Regions from separate parts of the Homo sapiens genome. Here all the other regions are linked to region 2. Evidence: promoter capture Hi-C in human tissues and cell types (Jung and others, 2019). All regions are on one chromosome and are shown on one strand. The core of a region is centred on a gene start or on the middle of the fragment in contact, and the rest is flanking DNA. Distances in the headings are between cores, read along the strand shown. Region 1 overlaps FBXW7 (F-box and WD repeat domain containing 7). Region 2 holds the start of TMEM154 (transmembrane protein 154). Region 3 overlaps FBXW7 (F-box and WD repeat domain containing 7). Region 4 overlaps FBXW7 (F-box and WD repeat domain containing 7). Region 5 has its middle 110 kb from the start of FHDC1.

Region 1 (4,461 bases), core at 927-3,426, 330 kb after region 2:
TTCCAAGGTCTTTAAAATGGATACCCAATATTTACCTTGAGTTTAGTTTAATTACATGCAGAAATTAGAAAGGAAAGTTTAATACGTTAGTAATATAGTTATATATTCTTTCTGCTATTAATTGGTCATTTTTAGGGTAGTTAGTTTTAGAGAGATCATCTAGTCGTCCTCATTTTACTAGTGGCAGAATTGAATTTCAAGTTTGTTTGAGACAGTTAAATCTCAAAATTTAAATTATTGTATAAAAATGTTTAGATGATCTTATTTAGTTTTGCATATAAGTTCTTAATACTTACCTGTTTTGAATAAATGTATTTCTAATCAAGACTGAGTCCTGTCAACTATTCAGACCAAACTTTATAAATAGCAGTAAAAAATTAGAAATATTATAGACAATTTTGAAGGCATCTGAGGCAAACTTAAGGAATAATGTGATTCTTGAAATTCAAAACATTTGAACATAGTATTTCTATGTCTGAGTTTTTTAAAGCTTTAATAAAGTATCACAACCCTTTTTATAAAGAAAATTTAAACTTTACTTATGTCACCAAAGACCAGTCATAGGAGAAGTGGGACTTGTATGTTCTAAGGAAATATTTTAACTTTATTTGTATATATTAACAACTTGCAGTTTTGTCATGGAGATTCTGTTATTTGGTTGCAATTAGCATTTCTGGGATAATAACAGGCGTTATATAGGAGGGAGGAAACTTACTGTAAGAATAGCAAATAGGTTTTGTGTACCTGTGATCTCTGGGAAGAAAGGTAATTAATTGATGTTTGAAATATGCCAGATCATCATTCTTTGTACTAGAATCTATTATTAATAAGTATCTATCTTTGCTTTCACTTTTGTTTTTTTCCTTTTATCCTTTCTCTCTCTCTTTTTTTTTTTTTTGTAGTACCACTGGGCTTGTACCATGTTCAGCAACACCAACAACTTTTGGGGACCTCAGAGCAGCCAATGGCCAAGGGCAACAACGACGCCGAATTACATCTGTCCAGCCACCTACAGGCCTCCAGGAATGGCTAAAAATGTTTCAGGTGACATATCTAAACATAGTACTTGAAATGCCTCACTTAATTGCTGCAAAATAAGGGATTATTCATCCGTAAAAAAAGAAGGAAACACTGTTACATAGTATACTGTGGATGAATTTTGAAATCATTCTGCCAAGTGAAAGAAGCCAGACACAAAAGGCCACATGTTGATTCTCTTTATATGAAATGTCCAGAATAGGCAAATCCATAGAGACAGAAAGTAGATTAATGGTTGCCTGACAATGAGGGGAGGAGAAGGACTAACTGCCAGTAGGTACAGATTGTCCTTTTGGGGTGATGGAAGTGTTCTGGAATTGGATAGTAGCGATGGTTGCACAGCAAGGTGAATATACTGGGAAGCACTGAAGTATATACTTGAAAATGGTGAATGTTATGTGCTGTTTATTTCAATTTAAAAATGCTATTAAAAACAAGGGAACTCAATTTTTGAATGTCATAATTGAGAAAGTCCAATACTTATTTGTGTAACTGTGCACTGACATTTTTTTTATTGCTTTTTAAATAATAAGACCTTCCTTCATCTTCTCCTTTGTTTGAATTTCTGGGTTGTCTAGTTTTCTAAACTGCATTGCTTGTAAGTTAGGCATTTAAGAGTAATTTAAGAACCATTCTAGCTAGAGTTAATACAGCTTCTTTTCTTCAGTGCCATGCTTGTATATGGCTTACCATGCTTGAATCCTGATTACTATATTTTAATAGTATTTATATTCTTTGGATGTGTACAGGGAAGATTGGTTACAACCAAACCCTGAATATTATGAACTTTATAACCTAAGATAGTGATATTACATTGATTTATCTCTTCTTCCAGTAAGATAATGCATATACATCAAGTGTTTAGCAAAATACATGGCAAGGATTAAGTACTTACTCAATTATTTGTTGCAAATAATAAATAATATAAATTATGTAAAGTAAAAAATATCTGATATTAGCCTCCATAGTAATGTAAAAAGAATATACTACCCTACCTCTGGCTGCTTGAATGGTTAGGTATTTAATCAATGCATAAGGCAATAATCGTTGGTAAAGATGATACTTTACTTGACTTTTAGTGTTTCAGATTTTTAAGGTGTTCACTTTGTAAACCCTAATATTTTAAATACCTAGATGAATATGAGATAAATGTGTCTATTTTTTTCTTCTGTAGGTAGAAAACTAACTTGGAGCAGTATTGCTTTTAAATGGTTTTTTAAAATTGTTTTCTACCCTTCAGGTGATTTCTGCAAAACTAGGATAACCTTTTTTTGGTTGGTAACTGAAAGATTTAAGCCTTGCTCTCAACAGGGATTAGTTTTTCCCCGCGTTGAGACAAAAGTGTCTCAAGACATTTTTCATTTTTATAACTGAGGGGATGGGGCGCAGGACACTGCTGGCATCTAGTAAGTAGAGGCAATACAAAGGACGATCTCCATGCCAAAGAATTATCCAGCCCAAAATGTCAATGGTACTAAAGAATCTGGGTTAGAGGAATGAAAGTTAGATTTTATTGTTATTAAAATGTTATAAGCCACTGTAATTACAAAGAATTTTTTTTAAGTTTTCATTTTCATAGTCATTTGTTGATTAAACTTACCTTTTCCCCAGGGATTATTCCTACCCTTCCTCCTGAGTTATTTTGCCTCTGGTTCATGATGGTTTGTAAAATGTTAATTAATTTTTATTTTTTCCTATGCACACCCTCAGAATTCTAAATTTTTAATTTTGTCCCATCCTTTTAAAAGGAAATTTATCCGTCAATAAGAGGCGAAAATAAAACTCGGACACTTGTATAGCCTTAAAAAAATAATTTAAAGATTTTTATCATCTCTGATTAAGCCAAAGAGGTAGGAATATGGTTGTATGTTGCCATGCTAACACATGCATGTAGTGTGAACAGCATATATCATTCTGATTTCATATCACATGATTTCACTGATTTCATATCATTTTTATAAGAAAATACCAACATGATTGAAAATTACACTATTAGCAATAGTTTTATCATCATTGTAGATAACCTCCAAAATGCTTATTTTATATGAAAAGGCTTATTTCTTTTCAGAAGGTAGTTCAGAGTAAGATTTACTTTTTCTGTGGTAGGGCTCATTTTTTCCAACGTTTTGGAATACCTGAATATTCTTTGCTTGCTATCTAGGATATTTCTCAATTTTAAAGGGACTCTGTAGTATTGATCTATAGGAAGAGGCATTTCAGCTTTATTTTAGTCAGGATATTTTAGAGAGTTCATTGTACACCGTTTGCTTGTTTAGCTAGCTTATGCTTTTTAAATAAAATGTCCAAATGTTACCGCATGCTGTATTTCATCAAATCTGAGACACCATAGTTTTTTTAGATGCATTCCAATTTCGGAAATGTTAATGTGAAAAAAAAAAAAACTGTATTCAATAAGCTAAAGAATGTTAGAATAGCTTTTGGTCCTGTAAAAGGAGTAGGTGCAGTGAAGAAAACATGTTCTTAGTTAACAGGAATAGCATGTGGAATTACCCCTGCAGGTATAGTATTATATACATTTTTTTCAGATAAATATTCTGTAGCAAAGAAATCTGTAGCAACAAAAGGTCAACTGGACAGGTAGATCAGGACCTTCATCTTTTGAGTACCATGTCTGTCTCTGACACACCCAAGGCCTCATTGTTGTACACTGCCCTTTATTTTCAGGGCTGGTCCCAGAGTAACTAGAAATGATTCACTTGCCTAAAGGCTTACTGTGCTTTAATGTCTAACTTGTAGAGATATAATTTCATAATAAAGTGGGGAGTCATGAGTTGACCTATGTGAGAGAGTTGAGGGATAATTAAACTGGCATGTTTTCTACAAATATACTGTGGGGGCATTTCATGATGACTTTTCTGTTGCATAATAAGCAGTATGGGAGAGCTTGTCCCCTTACTGTTCTGCTATTGCTCCTAAGGCAGTGATACAGCATTGCTTTGGTCCAGTTCCATCTATTCTGACAAAGTACTCTGTATTCTGTTTATAAATTGAGTATGAACAAATGATATTCCATTTTGCATAAAAGAGGACTGAAACAGAATGCCACTAGAAAATAGAAGTGCAAATTAAAGACAAAAACCAAAAAAAAAAATAGAAAGTTTATACCATTTGAATTTTCAGTAGCCATTGATCCACTTTGTATGGCAGTCAGATTGATGCTTCAGTTAATTTAGGGAAGCGAGTTGGTCATTTTTTTGGCTTGTTTATATCATTCAGGTGCTAATAAATGGTTTTTCACTTAAACTTTTCAGACTGGGTAAAGACATTAATTACATGAACATTATCTTATATTGAAATTTGTATTCAGAAGCATCTTGAGAATAGCACAAATGACATAGAAGGACAAGTTCTTAGTTCAAATTTTGACATTGTCTCTTAAAAACAATAATTTCATTAATATAT
Region 2 (4,915 bases), core at 2,271-4,770:
TATGTGAGTGTCGATGTGAGAGCGTGTGTGTGTGAGCACGTGTGCACATTTCTGAGTATGTGAGTGTGCCTGTGGGTGTGTGTTGGGAGACTGGATGTACAAATGGACAGTGGCCAAATAATATATGCAAAAACAGAACACTGGCTCCCAGCTTGCAGCAACCAACCCCCAGAAACCAATTCACTATCTTCAGTAGCAAGTCTAGGAAGCCAGCCTGCTAGAAATCAAACTTGTAGGAGGTCAGAGCACCTTCTGACAGATTCCCTCATTTTTATCTCCTCTTCTGATCTAGCAGCAGCAAAATATGCACCTCCTCACCAATCACTAGAACTTGCTGCTGGTTCCCCATGCCAGCAGCCTCCCTTCAGGCCATACCTGAGCCTTCCTTTTGTTTTTTTTCTGAAACGACTCTTGCTCTGTCGCCCAGGCTGGACTGCAATGGTGGGATCTCGGCTCACTGCAACCTCCACCTCTCAGGTACAAGTGATTCTTCTGCCTCAGCCTTCCGAGTAGCTGGGATTACAGGTACCCCGCATCATGCCCGGCTAATTTTTGTATTTTTGTAGAGATGGGGTTTTACTATATTGGCCAGGCTGGTCTTGAACTCCTGACCTCAGGTGATCCGCCCACCTTGTCCTCCCAAAGTGCTGGGATTACAGGTATGAGCCACTGCACCCGGCCCTGAGCCTTCCTTTTATCGACTGTAAAGTTATCTCATTCCTTGGCCTGCCTTTGGGTCTGTGCCAAAATGCAGCGATGGTGGCTGACTCTCTTGCTATGGCAAGCTCTGAATTAATATCCATTGCTTGGTTTCATTTGCTTGTGCTCATTTAGTCTTCATTTATTTCCACCATGTGCATGAATGTGTGTGTGAGAGACAGCTGTGTGTGTATCTGAGTGCATGTGCACATCTGTGTGTATTGGGAATGGCAGGATCGGAGTGTGAAGAGGAACGCGGAGAAGGCTGTCTGCACCCACTGGAAGATCCTATCATTTATCTGGATTTGTTCCCTTGGAGTCCCTCTTCTTTTATGGCCCATGGAGTGGTGGTGGGGAGGGGGCGGGGGGAAGGGAGGGAGGATAGGATGAGAGTCACTTCTGTAGCACAGACAGTTGATTGTAAAAGTCACACTCCTTTGTGTAAAGTAATAAAGAGTCCCTAGACATGGTTCCCAGTGTCCCTTCCTGCCCTTCTGAACATGATGAAGCACCATACTTCTTTCCTGCTTTCAGACAGCCAATGGCAGGCTCCAAAGTGGCATTACCCCTGCCTGTGTGCCACTCACTCTGAGGTTCCCCTGTGCCCCACATCTGGGACTGAGGCCCTGACTTCCTGCCACCAGTGCATCGGGATTTAATCTGAGGCTGGGTGGCTATTTGCCTAAATTAATGGTTGCTAAAATTAAAACAGAGGTAAATAGCCCTTTACCTACCACACAGCCTCCCTGGGATTTTAACTGCAGCAAAGAGATCATTGAGGTGCTACCATTTTCTGATCAATCATGGTAATTTTCTTCCCCCTAAGATCAGCTTAATCATGCTAAGGGTCTTAGAGAGCACAGGGGTCAAAAGAAAATTACATGGTTGGGCAGGATTTCTCTGCAGCTCCAGTTTATTTTGTACCTCACTCTGATTTAGTGTTGCACTGCTCAGAAGCAATGCATAGTGCACTTGTTGAAACAGTAATGAACTGTTTGGCCATGTCATGGGGCTCAGCAGAGGTCCACAGAATAAGACAGTCTGTGGTCCAATCCACAGACACCTGACTGCAAAAGCTTCCACAGGGAGCTGAAGTTTAAGATGAAAGAAACGAAGGCTGACAACCTTGCCCTTGACAAACATTTGCCTCCAGCCTGGGATTCAACAATGTTTTAATAACATTTAATAATATTTTAATAGGGCATAAATGGTAAAATGGAGAGAACTCCCAAGCCCTGGGCCTGCTTTCTTGCACGTGTGTGTCACAGCTGCAGAAACACGTGCTTGTACAGGAATAATTGCCACCCCAACTCAGTACCAGCAGGTCTTGGAGCCCGTGATCTATTCACATGCTCAGCAAGTGTTTAATTAATAGTTCTTTCTCTGTTGTTTTCAAATCAATCACCCAGTTTTGAGCACGTCTATTTTCTCCTGCTGTTTGTTCTGTATTGTCACCTGTGGTGCAAAAAGCATATTTTATCAAGAATTGACTTAATTGCCAGTTTAAAACATTAAAGTGCATACTGTAAATCCATTAACAAACTGATCCTTACATGAATCACCAACCTATTTCTTGTGAATAATAACTGAGATAAACAGTGACTAATGACATTGAAAAGCAGCAATGCATTAAAGAAAAATTAACAGCTATGTCAGGGGCTAAGGAATTCCAGTCACCTCATACGTTTGCACCAACCAGATCACTGAAGACAAACGACGGGAAGTCATGACTCAGATGGTGATCTGCAGGGAAAGGTTTAGAGATGAGATGTGTCTGATGCCTCAACACTACCCCTCTCTCCATCTGTCTGTCTCTCTTGGCACCACGATTATGAAACTGCATTCTGAATGCTTAGGCCCTAAACCTAAACCAAGGGAAGGACCTCCAATAGAACACCCAACACACACTAATCTCCACTGTATACTAGACACAACCTTTCTGTATTGTTTCGATTGGATAGGATTTCTACCATTATTCTATTTCGTTTCTGTCCTGTTTTGTTTGTTGTCTGAGAACTTGATTGTCAAGTAAGAAGGAAGGAAGGTGAGATGCAGATTCACCCCTACCTCCACCCTCAGAGCATATTCTCCTTTGGAAATGGACCTTGAAAAGATCATTTCTCTCTGGGGAAGCAGAACATAACCTTAAGGTGTGGGTGTGGCATCCACCTCCATCTGGCGTGGGCCTTGGTGGGAGGAGGGCATTCCAGAGTGGAGAAAGGAGAATGGACCTGGCGGAGAGAAGTGGTCTGGCAGTTTTCTGATGATGCAGTTGTCCCTGCTGTCTGGGCCTGCGCTATCCAACACAGCAGCCACTAGCCACTTGGAGTTATTAAAATTTTATAAAAATTCAATAAAATTTAAATTCCATCAGCACTAGCCTCAGTTCAAATGCTCAGTGGCCAATGTGGCTGATACTGTATCAGACGGCGCAGACTTGGAACATTTCCATCAGGGCAGAAAGTTCTACAGGACAGCTTCTTCCTAGGGTCTAGGCAGCCCCGGAGCCTCACCTGGGGGATAAGCAAAATCACAGAGTGAGAATGCGTGTGGTCCAGGACCCCTCCCAGTCCCAGATACCGAACGACATCTGAGCAAGGGACTCTGTTGCCCCGGGGACGGTTTCAAAAGCTGGAGGCCGGGACTCCAAAGGGCTGGAGAGGCGTGATAATAGAACCAGTGCTTCAACAGCAACTTCTCTTTTGCAATCCTTGCTGGTCTGACAGGCTCCTGCAGAATTACATCACTTCCTAAAAAACAGGCACACACCTCTCCTTCAAGTCAGCACCGACCCAAACAAGCAGGAAACAGGAAATGTTCACGTTTCAGAGAGGCTGCAGCCCGGCGCAGCATCCTGAGCGCGCCTCTGCCGAGGCGAGCGGACATGCAGGCTCCCCGCGCAGCCCTAGTCTTCGCCCTGGTGATCGCGCTCGTTCCCGTCGGCCGGGGTAAGCCGCCTCCACTTCCTACTCCTGGGAAGGAGGATCGCAAAAGCTGGTAGGGTGCCCGAGGCTACAGAACTCTGCCGGGGAGGGTGACACCCAGAAAATCTAATCCTTTCTGTGAAAGAAGTGGAGAAAATTAGAACTCCTTTTTTTGGGGGGTGGGATGGAGAGGGGACTTCGCTTTCGCTGCAGCTGTCTAAACTGGCTACAGCTCTCACTTCATTTAACCCTCTTTCAGTCTTTGTCTTCCAGGAAGTGTGCGTCCCTGTAATTTACCAGCTTTAATGGGCATATTAAGAAAACCATAAACTTTTTGGCAGTTTATGTAAAAAAAAACAAAAGCTTCAATTGGCTGAAACAGAGACATGATTAATTTGCTTTTTATGGTGTGGGCTGAGAAGTCTGCTGATTCCAAAATCTCCTGGAAAAACTGGGGTGTGAAAATTTACTACTAGAAAGCATACTAAAGAAACGACATAAACTTAAAAAAAAAAAAAGGAAACGGGAAATTATCCGAAGAGCTACCAAAGAGCTATGTGTTAGAGGGTAGCCCTCTAACACATCAAGTAAGGTCTTTCATCTACTTTTATTGCACCTTGTTACTTTTACAGATTTTTTTTTTGCATTGATTGTTACTAATGAAGATTTGTTTGAAAAAGTAATATGATTGGAACCAATCAAAGGTATTGGAAAAAACAATATTGAATCTCATTATTATGGGCTAAAAGCAACAACTGATTTACACCCTTGCCAGTTGCTACAACAAGCACAAGCACCTTCAGCTGCCTCTCTTGTTGACTTGCCTTTGGGCAAATACACTGGCTGCCCATTGTTTCTGTCAATGAACACCGACTGCTTCTAGTGTAGGGCAGTATTTACCAAGCAAAAGGAAAGTTCTCAAGCTACAGTTCTTTAGATAGAATGAGGGACATCAGCCCCAACCTAACAGATGTGACAACTTCCTGGAGGTCAGCAGCCAGCACCCAGCCACCCCACTCCATCAATTTCTCTTCCCCTGGGTGTTCTCCATGTGGTCCCCCAGGCATCTGAGGTAGAAAACAAAGTGGAAGGCAAATCATTCCAGCTGAAAAGATGTCTGGTTAAATTGAGTTTAGTGTTCAGAGTGGGTTTGGAAGTTGATGTGTTGTTTTATGCCCAGTGTTTTGGAGCTGGAAGGGAACTTGAAGATGATGCAGCTCAAACCATATTGGGCACACAGGTGAAGAAACAGAGGTGGAAGAAGGGAGATGTCTGGGTCTTGCTGCTAGTCA
Region 3 (5,025 bases), core at 2,441-4,940, 320 kb after region 2:
AATAGTGCCACAATAAACATACGTGTGCATGTGTCTTTATTGTAGCATGATTTATAATCCTTTGGGTATATACCCAGTAATGGGATTGCTGGGTCAAATAGTATCTAGATCCTTGAAGAATCGCCACACTGTCTTCCACAATGGTTGAACTAGTTTATAGTCCCACCAACAGTGTAAAAGAGTTCCTATTTCTTCTCCACATCGTCTCCAGCACCTGTTGTTTCCTGACTTTTTAATGATCGCCATTCTAACTGGTGTGAGATGGTATCTCATTGTGGTTTTGATTTACATTTAGTTTTTAAAGCTAGTATAAGTTACAACACTTTTGGCAACTCAGAAACTCATGCTTCAGATTTCTTGTCAGTAAAATGGAGGTACAAAATACTGTCTGTGAAGTTAATAACTATGAATAAATAAAATGATTTAAATGAGACCTGTGAGAAGTGGTGTACTTTAACAAGCATTGCTAAAACTGTGTATTCCTTTTAATAGTGAAAGTTTAGATTCTGTTGGGCATTTTAAAGGTACAGAAGTCCTAAACTGTGAAGTTGCATTTTTATTGCTCATCAAACTTATTTTCTTCCAATTTAATTTGTATTTGGACTGTATGACTGATAAATATGTAGAAATGCTTTTATGACTTTTCCCTGAGGGGGAAATATATTAAGTATTATAAACAATAGACAGTATAATTATAAAATGATAAACCTGTAAAATGTATTTTTCACCTACATCATCATTTCTTATTTAGAAAATTATGAGTTTTTAAAATTGTGTTCAAAATTAATGGTTTTCTGTTGTTATTTCTGTAGCTCTACCATTGTTGATTAGGGTATGTCTTGTGTGGCTAATTATCTCATATAAATATTTTTTATTGGTACCCTACTATATGCAGGAACTATGTGAGGAGCTGAGATACAACAAGAATCAAAACAGAATAAAAATACTGCCCTCATGGAACTTACAGTCTATTGGAGAAGACAGACAAATATTTAATGTGCTCACACTGTAACAAGGTGTTGGCTTCAAGCACTGGGAAATCAGAGATAGCCTGTATACAGATAATTCACATATTTTCATCTCCAACCCAGACCTTTCTTCTGGGCCAGAACCAGTTGGAGCATGAGATTTGGATACCCAGTTATCTCCAAGATATCTCAAGATCCTCCTCACCCCTGGCCCCCAGAAAACAAAAAACAACCAACTAACCCAGTCCTTGTTATCCAATTGCACAAGTGAGAAAACAGGTGTTATCTTTGATACCTTCCTCTTTTTTACTTGCCATGCATGACCCATCTGTTACTATCCTATCAGTTTGATGTCCTAAATGTCTCTTAACTGCCCACTCCTATGCATCTCTGTTTCTACCTAGCTAATCGAAGCCATCATTATCTCTTGCCTGGTCTAGTGGAATAACTTCCTCACACAGTCTCTCCACATCTACTCTCAATCACTGCCATTCTATTTTCAGCATTACACTTTGAATGATTTTTTTCAAGAAATAACATCTGATTATATCTTTTTCTTAACTACTATGCAGCATTAGCTTTTCATTACTCTTATGGTAAAACCCAAAATCCTTTGAGGTCTTGGGTAATGTATCCCTTGTCTACTTCTTCAGCCTCATCTTACACCTGCCATCCTACCTCTGTTCAGTGTCCTCTAGCTATAGGTGGTTATCCCTCCCTGCTCCGAACCTAGCTCAGTCATTCATTCAGCGAGAAGATGCCTTCTGTGAACCCACAGACTAGGTGGAAACCTCACCATTCTTAACACTCTTCGAACACTGCAGCATTTACCACAGTTGCAGTTTTGCTTTGTTTTGTCTCATTATCTTGCCCACTATGCTGTGAACTCCAGCCATGAAACAGACACAAGACTTAGTTTAGCTTATGTTAGGCAACTAAGTAACTATTATATTGAATGAATGGGAGTATCTGTGGCAGACTGAAATAACCATGTAAATCTGCATGTGTTGTAATTATGTATATTAGGTAGAATATAATTATGGAGATACTTGAGACAAAGTGTAGGGTAGAATCACAGAGATACATATGTTTCAATACAGATGTTCACTGTTAGGAATGATAACCATACATGGATCAAATGGACAATTAATGAAGATGGATTGGCTCTTTAAAAAAGGCCTTATGTAATGAAGTTAAGAAACAGGGCCCAAATGATAGCCACATATTGAAAAGCATGTGCTCTATGTATTCAGATGGAAAATCCTGTGTATTTGTTACTACTTGGTTAGTAAGTCAAGTATTTTTAGGCTGTGTACTAAAAAAATTTTCAATGAAGAAGTCATAGTCCCTTATTAAGTGTATTTGGGTTTGAGTAATCAACAAAGAACATTTGAAGCAGTTTCTTTCATAAATATTATGATTCATAACTTTTGCCAGTTTTCCATAGGGTTCAAATCATTTTGGTAAGGAGGAAAAAACCTAGTAGCTTCGTTGAAAGGACACTGCAATGGAGATCCTTTGATGTTTGTGTTTTCAGCTCTCTTTTATTTCATATTTTAGGGAAATAAAGCAGGACATGAAGGAAGGAGAGTAAGACATAGAAGTCCTGAGAGGGTTTGGGAAAAGGAAGCAAAACCCATTTGTTGTTGTGTTTCTTCCAGTATGCCCACTGATGACTGCCTGGCCTCAATATAATGTCACAGATTATAAGAGCAGTTCTTAACCAAGCGGAGCCACTGGCAGTAGTGTATTAACTTGTTGTCAAGCTGCTCCTGGTGAATTCCCAGAAATAAAGTGTATCACAGTACACAATTAGCTGCATAGTCCGTCTCTTCTTTCTGCAAGTCTGCAGTGGCTCTAGTGTGGATTTCATATTCACATCACACATTTGCATACTGAAATAACTAAGAAAACATCTTAGAGATATTTAAACTGCCAATATTTCTTGCTTTGTATATAGAGAACCCTATTTTTATTTTTTTGTAAACTGAAGACCAGGACTTCCTTAGGTTCAAATCCCATCTACCTTAAGTGACCTTGGGGTCGCTTAAAACTCTCTGTGCCTCTTTCCTCATCTGTAAAATAGAGATAATAATAGTACTTTCTGCAGAAAGTTGTTAAACCGTTTCATTGAATTAATATAAGAAAAACACCTAGGAAGAGTGCCTGACATATAGTGAGTTTCCTTCCCTGTATACATTGTATTCTTAAGAAAACATCTTTTTGAAAAGGAGTTGCTTATTCAAACTGGAATAAAGTTTGCAGCATCTTTGATAGTGGGCACTGAAAGAGCATTCAGGTCAGTTTAAAATCTAGTGTTTATTTTTCTTGTATACATTTGGTTTAAAATATTGCCATGTGCATTTCTTGAAAATATTATCTCTTCCTCTTTCTAGTTGTATATATTGTCATACAAATTAAGCAGTTTCACTTATTAGTCAAATGGATTTGTCATTTTTTATTGACTTGCCTGTCCTTCCCTCCTGAGTTGGGAGTGCTTCCAGGATAGATATTACATCTTGCTCAATTTTGCATCTTTTTTGCTTAGTGCTTGGCTTTTAGTAACCCTGGACAAATATTTCTAAAATGTGGTAGATCTAGATCTAAAAATATAACATTTGAATCACTGCTTAATTTTTTCTCCCTCTTGTTTTATTGTTTAGAAAATGGAGAATCATTATATGACTCAGGATTCATTTGGATGAGACTGATAATATTATAATGGAATTTGGAGTTAGAGGCTCACATGAATTGCTCTCAGTCACTAGCTTTTTCTGTGCTACCTATAAATGATAAACAAATATTGTGAATCTCACAAAGTTAAAGTCTTTGAAATAAATGGATTGGTAGGGGGTAAATTACATCTTAGTCTAACAAAATCTGTTTATTGCAATGGTTTAATAAAAGTCAGGTGACTAAAAATATCTTGGAAAATACCACTTAATTTTAATCTTTGCTGTTTATGTTGTGATCATGATGATTAACATATCTTCATTTATCTTCTCTTGAAAACTATTCCAAGTTCTTGTTGTTTTTTTTTTTTTTTTTTTTTGAGAGAGAGAGTTTCACTCTGTTGCCCAGGCTGCAGTACAGTGGTGCAATCTTGGCTCACTGCATCCTCTGCCTCCCGGGTTTGAGCAATTCTCTGCCTCAGCCTCCCAAGTAGCTGAGATTACAGGTGCCCACCACCATGCCTGGCTAATTTGTTTTATATTTTCAGTGGAGACGGGGTTTCACCATCTTGGCCAGGTGATGGCCTGGTGAACTTGATCTTGAACTCGTGACCTTATGATCCACCTGCCTCAGCCTCCCAAAGTGCTGGGATTACAGGCATGAGCCACTGCGCCCGGCCCTAAGTTCTTTTTTAATATGCTAAGTTGTCTGTTGTTGGAATGACTTTAAAGGAAAGGTTTAAAATGAAGAAAGGAATATGTGTGTGTCTTCTTTATCATCTCATGAACTAAAAAATACTGGAATTTTAAGATTACACTAAAGTTCAGCATCCTTTTGCTAGCTTTGAATTGATATTCTTTTGGGTAGATTTAGACTATTCCTCATAGGATTTTTTCATATTGTATAATTATGAACATACATTGACTCATAAACTTAGATTTTAAGAAATCTAAGATTTAGCTTTAAAAAGTGGTCTCAATTTACCATGTAGCAGTTCGTAACAGACCACAGCTATATGCACTTGTTCATATCAGGAGCAGTTCTTAATTTTAGTTATAATTCATATTTGTTTAATAGTCATCATTCCATCATTACATACCATGCCTTCATGCAACTGGTGGGAAACTTATGATATTCATTCCACATAAAGGAGTTTTTAGAATCATGTATTAAATGTGATAAGCTTTCTTTTTTCTTTTCTTTTTTCTGTTCTGTTCTGTTCTTTTTTTTTTTTTTTTTTTTGAGATGGAGTCTAGCTCTGTCTCCCAGGCTGGAGTGCAGTGTTGCAATCTCGGCTCACTGCACCCTCCACCTCCCGAGTTCAAGCAATTCTCCTGCCTTAGCCTCCCAAGTAGCTGGGATTACAGGTGCACACCACCATACC
Region 4 (4,633 bases), core at 1,880-4,379, 290 kb after region 2:
ATGACTGAAATACCTGTAATTACTGTGTCATTTTTGTCATAGTTGACTTAAAGGTGTAACTATAATAATCACGAACTAAATTCTTGGTGAGCAGCTGTGTAAGGCCATTTTAACAGCTGGGGTAACCCAGCTCAGCCTGTAAGAGTTAAGCTTAATCATGAGACAGGTTATGTTAAGTCATTGAAGACTTCATACTGGGCATTTCTGAAATACTTAGAAAATTCAGTGGGATAGTTGGATTTTTGTTTTATCTTAAGTACTTTTTAAAATGCTTAATGAAAGGATGAGGAAAAGTATTTTAACAACTAAAGTTCTTAGGCACAAATAATAGAAATAAAATCCAAAGTTTACTCATTAAAAAAAAAAAGTCAAATATACTCTATATGCTAGTGTTTAGACCACTACAGTAGGTAGGAGAGGAAAAAAATATATAAACACACACACATATTATTATAGTATAATATGGAATCAGAAAAATCCTGAGGTTATTTTTCTTGAATTTCATCTTTTAAAAATTTTTTTAAAAATCATTATGCCTGTAGCTTCTTTCCAATAAAAATGTTTTCTTATTACTATACAAAAACATTTAGAGCACAGGCATACATGCCTTTTGTAAAAGAAGGCAGACACAAAAGAATTGAAACAATGCATTTTATTTGGATATATTTTATAAACTAGCTATATTGTTCACTAAACTATAATAAAGGAAAGCTCACCAAATTGAACCTTCTTACAAGAAGGCCATATATGTAATATTATTAGAGCTGTAATATGCTTTTTTTTGGTATAAATTTAAGGGGTACTCTAGTTTTTTTTACATGGATATATTACATAGTGGTGAAATTTGGGCCTTTAGTGTACCTGTCACCCAAATAGTATACATTGTACCCGTTAAGTGATTTCTCATCTCTCAGCATCCTCCCTGCATGTCACCCTTCTGAGTCTCTTAATATCTATTACTACACACTCCATGTTCATGTGTACACTTTACTTAGCTTTCACTTGTAAGTGAAACGTGGTATTTGACTTTCTGTTTCTGTGTTGTTTCACTGAAGAATCACCTCCAATTCCATCCATGTTGCTGCAAAAGACATTTCATTCTTTTTTATAGCTGAATAGTATTCCATTTGTGTGTGTGTGTAAACATATATATATGTGGGTTAGTTATCATAGTTGACTTAAAGTTATAACTATTATAATCACCAACTAAATTCTTGGGCATCTTTAAAATAATGATTTCTTTTCTTTTGGGTAGATGCCCAGTAGTGGGATTGCTGGATCAAATGATAGTTCTATTATTAGTTCTCTGAGAAATCTCCATAATGTTTTCCATAGAGATTGTACTAATTTGCATTCCCACCAACACCGTATAAGCATTTCTTTTTCTCCACATCCTCGCCAACATCTATTATTTTTTGTCTTTTTAATAATAGCCATTCTGAATGGTGTGAGATGAGATCTCATTGTGGTTTTACTTTGCATTTCTTTGATAATGATGTTGAACATTTTTTCATGCTTGTAGGCATGAAAAAATATGTATGTCTTCTTTTGAGAAGTATTTATTCATGTTCTTTTCCCACTTTTTAATGAAGTTAATTTGGTTTTTGTTGTTGAGTTGCCTGTCAATTCTGCATATCAGCCCCCTGTTAGAAGCATAGTTTGCAAATATTTTCTCCCATTCTGTAGGTTGTCTTTTCATTCTGTTGATTTAGAGATGTAATGTACTCTTAAACCTGCAAGGGACTTAATCTCAATCATCTGAAGAGAAGTCAGATAGTCTATATCTATTAAATATTTAGCCTCCTCTTTGTAGAAATCTGAAGTATAAACTCCAGGTAATTGTACTGCAAGACATTAAATAGTTAAGGTTCCTGAATCTTGGAGTTTCTGGTGTACCATGGGATGGTTTTGTCATCTGTCAACTTATAATTTATTAGCACTTGTTTTGGTTGGTTTTCTGTGTTTTACTTTTTAATTTATAATGTATTTTCAGCAAAATTTTTGGAAATAACTGGAATATAAAACAGCTTAAATGTCTAACATTGAGATGTTGATTCCATAAATCAGAGCAGTTACAATACCTTATATAATCTAGTATTCTGGCATTTTTATTTTGAGAATGCTACCTATCTGTGCATATAGGCATGTACATGCAATGCTTTTATTTTGCAAATGTCCAATTATCAGGTCACATTTTTATAACACTTGTGTATGTTGTATGTGCTGCTTCAGAACCCAAGCATATTTCTCTTAGTTAGGGGCCGCCCTTGTTGCCCAAATGAAGAAAATTAGCAGGGAAGTGCAGTATGTTGTCCATTGAATGTTTACATACATGTAATGTCTCAAATACATTATAATTGGAAGTTGTAATCTGAGTGAGCACTTTGAGCATGTAAATAAATATCTTTTAGAACATTTTTAGTAATCATTTTAAATGTGATTTTAATCTTATAAAAACATTTTAATTTATTTGACATACCTTTTGTGAATACTAAAGCTTAAAAAAAAAATACTAAAACTTTAAAAGATATCCTGACCAGGCGCTGTGGCTCACGCCTGTAATCCCAGCACTTTGGGAGGCCGAGGTGGGCGGATCACAAGGTCAGGAGTTCGAGACCAGCCTGGCCAACATAGTAAAACCCTGTCTCTACTAAAAATAACAAAAATTAGCTGGGCGTGGTGGTGGGCACCTGTAATCCCAGCTGCTCAGGAGACTGAGGCAGGAGAATTGCTTGAACCTGGGAGGCGGAGGTTGCAGTGAGCCGACATTACACCACTGCACTCCAGCCTAGGCAACAGAGCAAGACTCAGTCTCAAAAAAAAAAAAAAAAAAGGTATGCCATGTTTTTTTTCTTTGATGCCCAATCTAATTGTATTTATGTTTCTGCATTTAAAGTAATATGTTGCTTGCTGGATGTTTTTTTTTTTTTTTTTACAGTTTTTGCTAATACAAGCTTGATAATTTATCATTAAGCAGAGGGTTTAATTTATTGATTTATGATTGTTTTCCTCTGTGTTTAAATTGTTCCGTCTTCAACCATGAATTGCGTTCATTTGTGAATTGCTTGGTAGGGAAATACTTTAATACTCTGATATCTATGATGTTAGGAAGACTAAAAACTGATTTGGTAGATAAAATAATCTGCTTTACTCTGTATCTGTGAAATAAGTGAGTATGCTTGATAATACCATATTATCTGATCAGAAGGATTTTGATTCTGATTTATTGCACTTCAGTAATGGTATACTTTTTAGCATGTGGGACTTTCTGTTTCTACAACAGAGTAAGTCACTTGTTGCCTGAATTCACAGAAGCAGTGAATAATACTGAATTCAAATAACATACGTTGATATTATTCCTGTGAAAGTTTTTGAGGTAAGACTTTGAAAACTCTTGGTATAAAGTCAATTTGAATTTGCAGGGAGATTTACATCTTCTGAGTGATTTGTTTTAGCTGATTCAGGAATAATTTATGAAAAATGGAAAATCTTTGTGCTGCTCATATGCTGTGGCTTTGGTCAGGAGCAGTTAAATTTCTAGCCTTTTGTATAATACTGAATGAAAGAAAAGATGGAAATCCAGAGTAAATTGCTGTGATGGTATTTTTATTGTTGTTACAAGAGAATTGGAGTGCTTGGACTTGTAATGCATTTTACAGATACCGTATTGGTGATATTTTATTACATGTCACATTTATATATAATTGTTTTTACGGATGCAAATTTTTAGAAGAAAGAAAATCAGGGAGTGATAAGTGGGCAAAATAAGTTACCTTATATAAAGACCTTTTCTTTACTACAAGTTCCCTAATGTTTAGCCCATCTTGGATGATCAGTGGTATCTGGAATCTTAAAATGCCAAGACACTATGGCTAAGATACTACAGCTTCATATTTTGGCAAAAATTTTGACAGAATTATAGAAGTCTTTCTGAAACTTACAAATAATATGTTTTAAAATATTCTTTTCCAAAGTTATTATAGATGGATTTTAGAATCTGCTTTATTTCCTGGTGATTTTAAAATTGGAAATGTAATCTACAAAGCTCTATGTGATTTTTGATTCCATTAATAGTAGTAGTAATCATAATGACAGTTTAATTAACACTATCGAACACTTACTAGATGTGAGGCGTTACTCTGTATACTTATATCAACTAATTTTTAATCCTCACAACAGTCCTATGAGTACTGCCTAGGTGAACTTGAGACACGAATTAAATTAAGGTCATACCTGGTAAAGCCAGGATTTGGACTAAGTTAGTTTGGTTCTGGAGTCCATGTTCCTACCTATCATATTGCACTGCCTTATTATTTGTGGTATCATCTTTAAAAGAGCTTGTCTGTTTTTAAGAGTCTCAATTTGGGTAGTAATTAAAGAGTATCTTTAATGTTTTTAAGAGTAGAATTGAGACTCAGACTTTATCTTTTCTTGAACACATGGAATTAGCTACATTTTGAAGTATTAACAGTTGGGGTTCTTATATACCTTGTCTATGATTTCCCTCATTTATTAGGGTTTTTGTCTATATTTGAAGGTTTGTTTTTTTAGTGTTTCGTGTTGATTGGGAATATCGCATTAGAAATACTGTTACTTGAATCCTCCCAAAAAAATGAAACTTGTAGTATATATA
Region 5 (4,521 bases), core at 224-2,723, 370 kb before region 2:
CGAGGTGGGCGGATCACCTGAGGTCAGGAGTTAGAGACCAGCCTAGCCAAGATGGTGAAACCCCATCTCTACTAAAAATACAAAATTCAACCGGGCATGGTGGCACATGCCTGTAATCCCAGCTACTTGGGAGGCTGAGGCAGGAGAATTGCTTGAACCCGGGAGGTAGAGGTTGCAGTGAGCCAAGTTGGCACCACTGCACTCCAGCCTGGGTGACAGAGCAAGACTTCGTCTTGGGTTGGGGGTGGTGGGCAGAAATCATTCAGTAGTGTCAGAAGTCAGGGCAGTGGCGAGCGGGGGCAGGAGGGGCTAATAATGATCTGGGTGCTAGACACATGAGTGCATTCATTTTGTGAAAATTCGTCAAGCTGTACATTTATGATGTGTGTACTTCTCTCCAGATGGTATACTTCAATAAAACGTCCACTGAAAATATAAAGTTCACACCTGTAATCCTAGCACTTTGGGAGGCCAAGGTGGGTGGATTGCTTGAGGCCAGGAGTTCAAAACCAGGGTAGTCAACATGGCATAACCCCATCTCTACTAAAAATACAAAAACCAGCCAGGCATGGTGGCGCATGCCTATAATCCCAGCTACCCGGGAGGCTGAGGCAGGAGAATCGCTTGAACCCAGGAGGTGGAGGTTATAGTGAGCCGAGATCACACCATTACACTCTAGCCTGGACAGCAGAGTGAGACTCTGTCTCAAAAAAAAAAAAAAAGAAAAAGGTAAAGTACATATTAGTTTAGCTTTTTATTATTATTTTAAAAAGTGGTTTAAGAGTATCCAACCTAAAAATTTAGGGAAAACTTATCAGGAGGGTGAGGACTTTAATTACTAAAAAATTATACTTTTTTTCTGGGAAAAAAATAATAGCTATGAAGAAGACTTTGCATTCAAGAAATAGAGGCTGTAATCAAGGCAACATGGTATTGACACGAGAATATTTAAATAAATCCATAGAACAGAATCAAGAGCCCAGAAACAAACCTACACATATACAATATGTGACAAATCACATAGTTGATTCATGACAAAGGCACCCTGTCAATAAATGGTCCTGGGTCAAGCATATATCTATATGGGAAAAATGAACTTTCATACTTGCTTAATACTACACATAAAAATTAATTCAAAATGGGTTATAAGTCTTAATGTGAAAGGTAAAAAATACAGCTTCTAGAAGAAAACATAAATGAATATTTTCTTTCTTTTTTTTTTCTGAGACAAAGTCTCCTTTTGTTGCCCAGGCTGGAGTGCAATGGTGATCATGGCTCACCATAGCCTCAAACTGCTGGGCTCAAGTGATTCTCCCATCTCAGCCTCCTGAGTATCTGGGACTACAGATGCGCATCACCATGCCTGGCTAATTTTTGTATTTTTTTGTAGAGACTTTCACTGTATTGCCTAGGCTGGTCTCAAACTACTGGGCTCTAGTGATCCTCCTGCCTTGGCCTCCCAAAGTGCTGAGATTATAGGCATGAGTGAACGTGCCCAACCAAAAAGAATATTTTCATGACCATAGGGGTAGTCAAAGATTTCTTAAGTAGAACGGAAAAGTCACTAACTATTAAAAATTAAGGTTGATCAATGGGCTACATTAAAATTAAGAAACTTCTCTTCACCAAAATATATATTAAGGGAGTGAAGAGGCAAACCACGGACTGAGAGATATTCATATAGATATATCTGATAAAGCATCTATGTGCAGAATATGTAGCGAGCACCTTCAAATGAAAAAAGATAAATAATCAAAATTTCTAAATGAGCAAGAGATTTAAACAGGTACCATCTTAGCCCATTTTGTGTTGCTGTAAAGCAATACTTGAGACTGGGTAATTACCAAAAATAAGCAATGGGGAAAGGACTCCATGTTTAATAAATGGTGCTGTGATAACTGGCTAGCCATATGCAGAGGAATGAAACTGGACCCCTACTTATCACCATATGCAAAAAGTAATTCAAGATGGATTAGAGACTTAAATATAAGACCTCAAACTATAAGAATCCAAGAGGAAAATCTAGGAAATACCTTTCTCGACATCACCCTTGGAAAATAATTTATGCTAAGTCCTCAAAAGCAATTTCAACAAAAACAAAAATTGACAAGAGGTTCTGCACAACAAGACAAACTATTAATGCAGTAAACAGACTACCTACAGAATGGGAGAAAATATTCACAGAACTCTGCATCTGGCAAAGGTCTACTATCCAGAATCTATAAGAAGCTTAAATTGATTCATGACAAAGGGACTCTGTCAATAAATGTTCCTGGGTCAAGTGTATATCTATATGGGAAAAATGAACTTTCATACCTGCTTAATGCTACACACAAAAATTAATTCAAAATAGGTTATAGGTCTTAATGTGAAAGGTAAAAAATACAGCTTCTAGAAGAAAACGTAGATGAATATTTTCTTTCTTTTTTTTTTCTGAGACAAAGTCTCCTTTTGTTGCCCAGGCTGGAGTGCAATGGTGACCATGGCAAAAAACAGATAACCCCATTAAAAAGTGGGCAAAGGACATGTATTTCTTCTCAGAAGACATATATGTGGCCAACAAACATGAAAAAATGCTCAACATCACTAATCACCAGAGAAATGCAAATTAAAACCACAGTGAGATACCACCTCAAACCACTCAGAATGCCCTTTGTTAAAAAGTAAAAAACATAACAGATGTTGGCAGGGCTGTGGAAAAAAGGGAACACTTACACACTGTTGGTGGGAATGTAAGTCAGTTCAGCCACTGTGGATAGCAGTTTGGAGATTTTTCAAAGAACTAACAGTTAACTATCATTTGATCCAGCATCTCATTATTGGTATATACTCAAAGGAAAATAAATTGTTCTGCCAAAAAGAGGCATGCTCCCATATGTTCATCACAGCACTATTCACAATACCAAAGACATGGAATCAACCCAGGTGCTCATCAACAGTGGATTAGATAAAGAAAATGTGGTACATATACACCATGGAATACTATGCAGCCATAAAAAGAATGAAATCATGTTCTTTGCAGCAACATGGGTGCAGCTGGGGCCATTATCCTAAGTGAATTAATGCAGGAATAGAAAACCAAATACCATATGTTCTCACTTATAAGTGGGAGCTAAACACTGGGTAAACACAGACAGCAAGATGGCAACAAAAACCACTGGGGATTCCAAAAGGGAGGAGGCGAGGACAAGGGTTGAAAAACTACCTATTGAGTACTGTGCTCTCGCTTCCTTGGTGGCGAGTTCAATCGTACTCCAAATCTCAGTATCACACAACATACCCATGTAGCAAATCTCTACACGTACCCCTTGGATCTAAAATAAAAGTTGGAGTTAAAAAAAAAAAAGTACAGCACCCAGCCATTCATGAGCAATCTGCCCCCATGACCCAAACATCTCCCATTAGGCTTTATCTTCCAACACTGCCACACCGGGTATCAAATTTCAACATGAACTTCAGTGAGGACAAACAAACCATATCCAAACCATGGCAGGTACTTTGCAAACGAGGATACCCAAATGGCCAATAAGTATATAAAAGTTACTTAACGTCAGTATGCATCAATAGATGCGCAGACAAATCGCAATGAAATACTGTCATACACCCGCCTGAATGACTAAAATTAAAAAAGCAATGAGGCAAAGTGTTGACAAGGTACTGAGTATCTGGTGCACTCATACTTCACTGGTGGGGGTGTAAATTAGTACAATTTGGAAACCGTTTAGCAGTATCTGCTATAGCTAAACTATGTCTACCCTGGGACCAAAAACTCCCACTAGGTATACAGTCTAGAGAAATGAGTTTGCCCTCTAAAAGACATGTACAAGAATGTCTATAACAGCTTAATTCAAAATAGCCAAAAATTGGAAAAAACTCAAATGTCCATCACTAGTGGAATGAATAAAAAATGAGGTATTCATACAATAGAAAACCACAGCAATAAAAAGTAACTACTGCTACACACGACATGAAAGGATCTCACAGACATGTGAGATAAGCAAAAGAAGTCCAAAACTAAAGAGTACATACTGAGGCCAGGCGCGGTGGCTCACGCCTGTAATCCCAGCACTTTTGGGAGGCCGAGGTAGGCAGATTGCCTGAGGTCAGCAGTTCGAGACTAGCCTGGCTAACGTGGTGAAACCCCGTCTCTACTAAAAAAATACAAAAATTAGCCGGGCATGGTGGTGGGCACCTGTAATCCCAGCTACTCGGGAGGCTAAGGCAGGAGAATTGCTTGGACCCGGGAGGTGGAGGTTGCAGTGAGCCAAGATAACACCACTGCACTCCAGCCTGGGTGACAAGAATGAAACTCTGTCTCAAAAAAAAAAAAAAAAAAAAAAAAAAAAGAGTGTATACTGTATGATTCCATTCATACGCATTTCAAGAACAGACAAAATTAATCCACAGCTGACAGAAACCATTAAAGTCATTTTGTCTGGGGGAACAGTTGGTATTATCAGGTAAGGAGCATTCAGAAGCATTAGGAAGCTTCTGGGATGTTGGGAATATTTTCCATTTTGA

Evidence for each region. Contacts are between HindIII fragments. The study calls those that stand out against the background at their distance.
Region 1: a contact is called between a fragment that was not itself captured here and the fragment with the promoter of TMEM154 in region 2, in 1 of the 25 tissues and cell types used here (lymphoblastoid cells).
Region 3: a fragment that was not itself captured here is called in contact with the fragment with the promoter of TMEM154 in region 2 in 1 of the 25 tissues and cell types used here (lymphoblastoid cells).
Region 4: a contact is called between a fragment that was not itself captured here and the fragment with the promoter of TMEM154 in region 2, in 1 of the 25 tissues and cell types used here (lymphoblastoid cells).
Region 5: a fragment that was not itself captured here is called in contact with the fragment with the promoter of TMEM154 in region 2 in 1 of the 25 tissues and cell types used here (dorsolateral prefrontal cortex).

What each region holds. Positions count from the first base shown.
Region 1 is chr4:152,343,513-152,347,973 of GRCh38, reverse strand. FBXW7 (F-box and WD repeat domain containing 7) reads left to right here. Exons shown (of 14, transcript NM_001349798.2): 6 at 903-1,044. Among named protein-coding and RNA genes, the nearest start is that of FBXW7-AS1, 8.1 kb to the right of the region's middle. The HindIII fragment of the contact is 8,174 bases long and covers 1-4,461 here.
Region 2 is chr4:152,678,602-152,683,516 of GRCh38, reverse strand. It overlaps TMEM154 (transmembrane protein 154), which reads left to right and starts at 3,520. Exons shown (of 7, transcript NM_152680.3): 1 at 3,520-3,647. The coding sequence starts at 3,584. It overlaps LOC105377495 (a long non-coding RNA gene), which reads right to left and starts at 3,432. Exons shown (of 4, transcript XR_939359.3): 1 at 3,213-3,432; 2 at 2,844-2,930; 3 at 2,377-2,442; 4 at 1,855-2,154. RefSeq lists enhancers at 3,437-3,746, 3,057-3,886. The HindIII fragment of the contact is 4,840 bases long and covers 352-4,915 here.
Region 3 is chr4:152,361,824-152,366,848 of GRCh38, reverse strand. All of the region lies in intron 4 of FBXW7 (F-box and WD repeat domain containing 7), which reads left to right. Among named protein-coding and RNA genes, the nearest start is that of FBXW7-AS1, 27 kb to the right of the region's middle. RefSeq lists an enhancer at 1-346. The HindIII fragment of the contact is 7,970 bases long and covers 1-5,025 here.
Region 4 is chr4:152,385,909-152,390,541 of GRCh38, reverse strand. The region is part of intron 4 of FBXW7 (F-box and WD repeat domain containing 7); the gene reads left to right. Among named protein-coding and RNA genes, the nearest start is that of FBXW7-AS1, 51 kb to the right of the region's middle. The HindIII fragment of the contact is 3,609 bases long and covers 1,325-4,633 here.
Region 5 is chr4:153,047,013-153,051,533 of GRCh38, reverse strand. No RefSeq gene overlaps it. Among named protein-coding and RNA genes, the nearest start is that of FHDC1, 110 kb to the right of the region's middle. The HindIII fragment of the contact is 3,773 bases long and covers 1-3,359 here.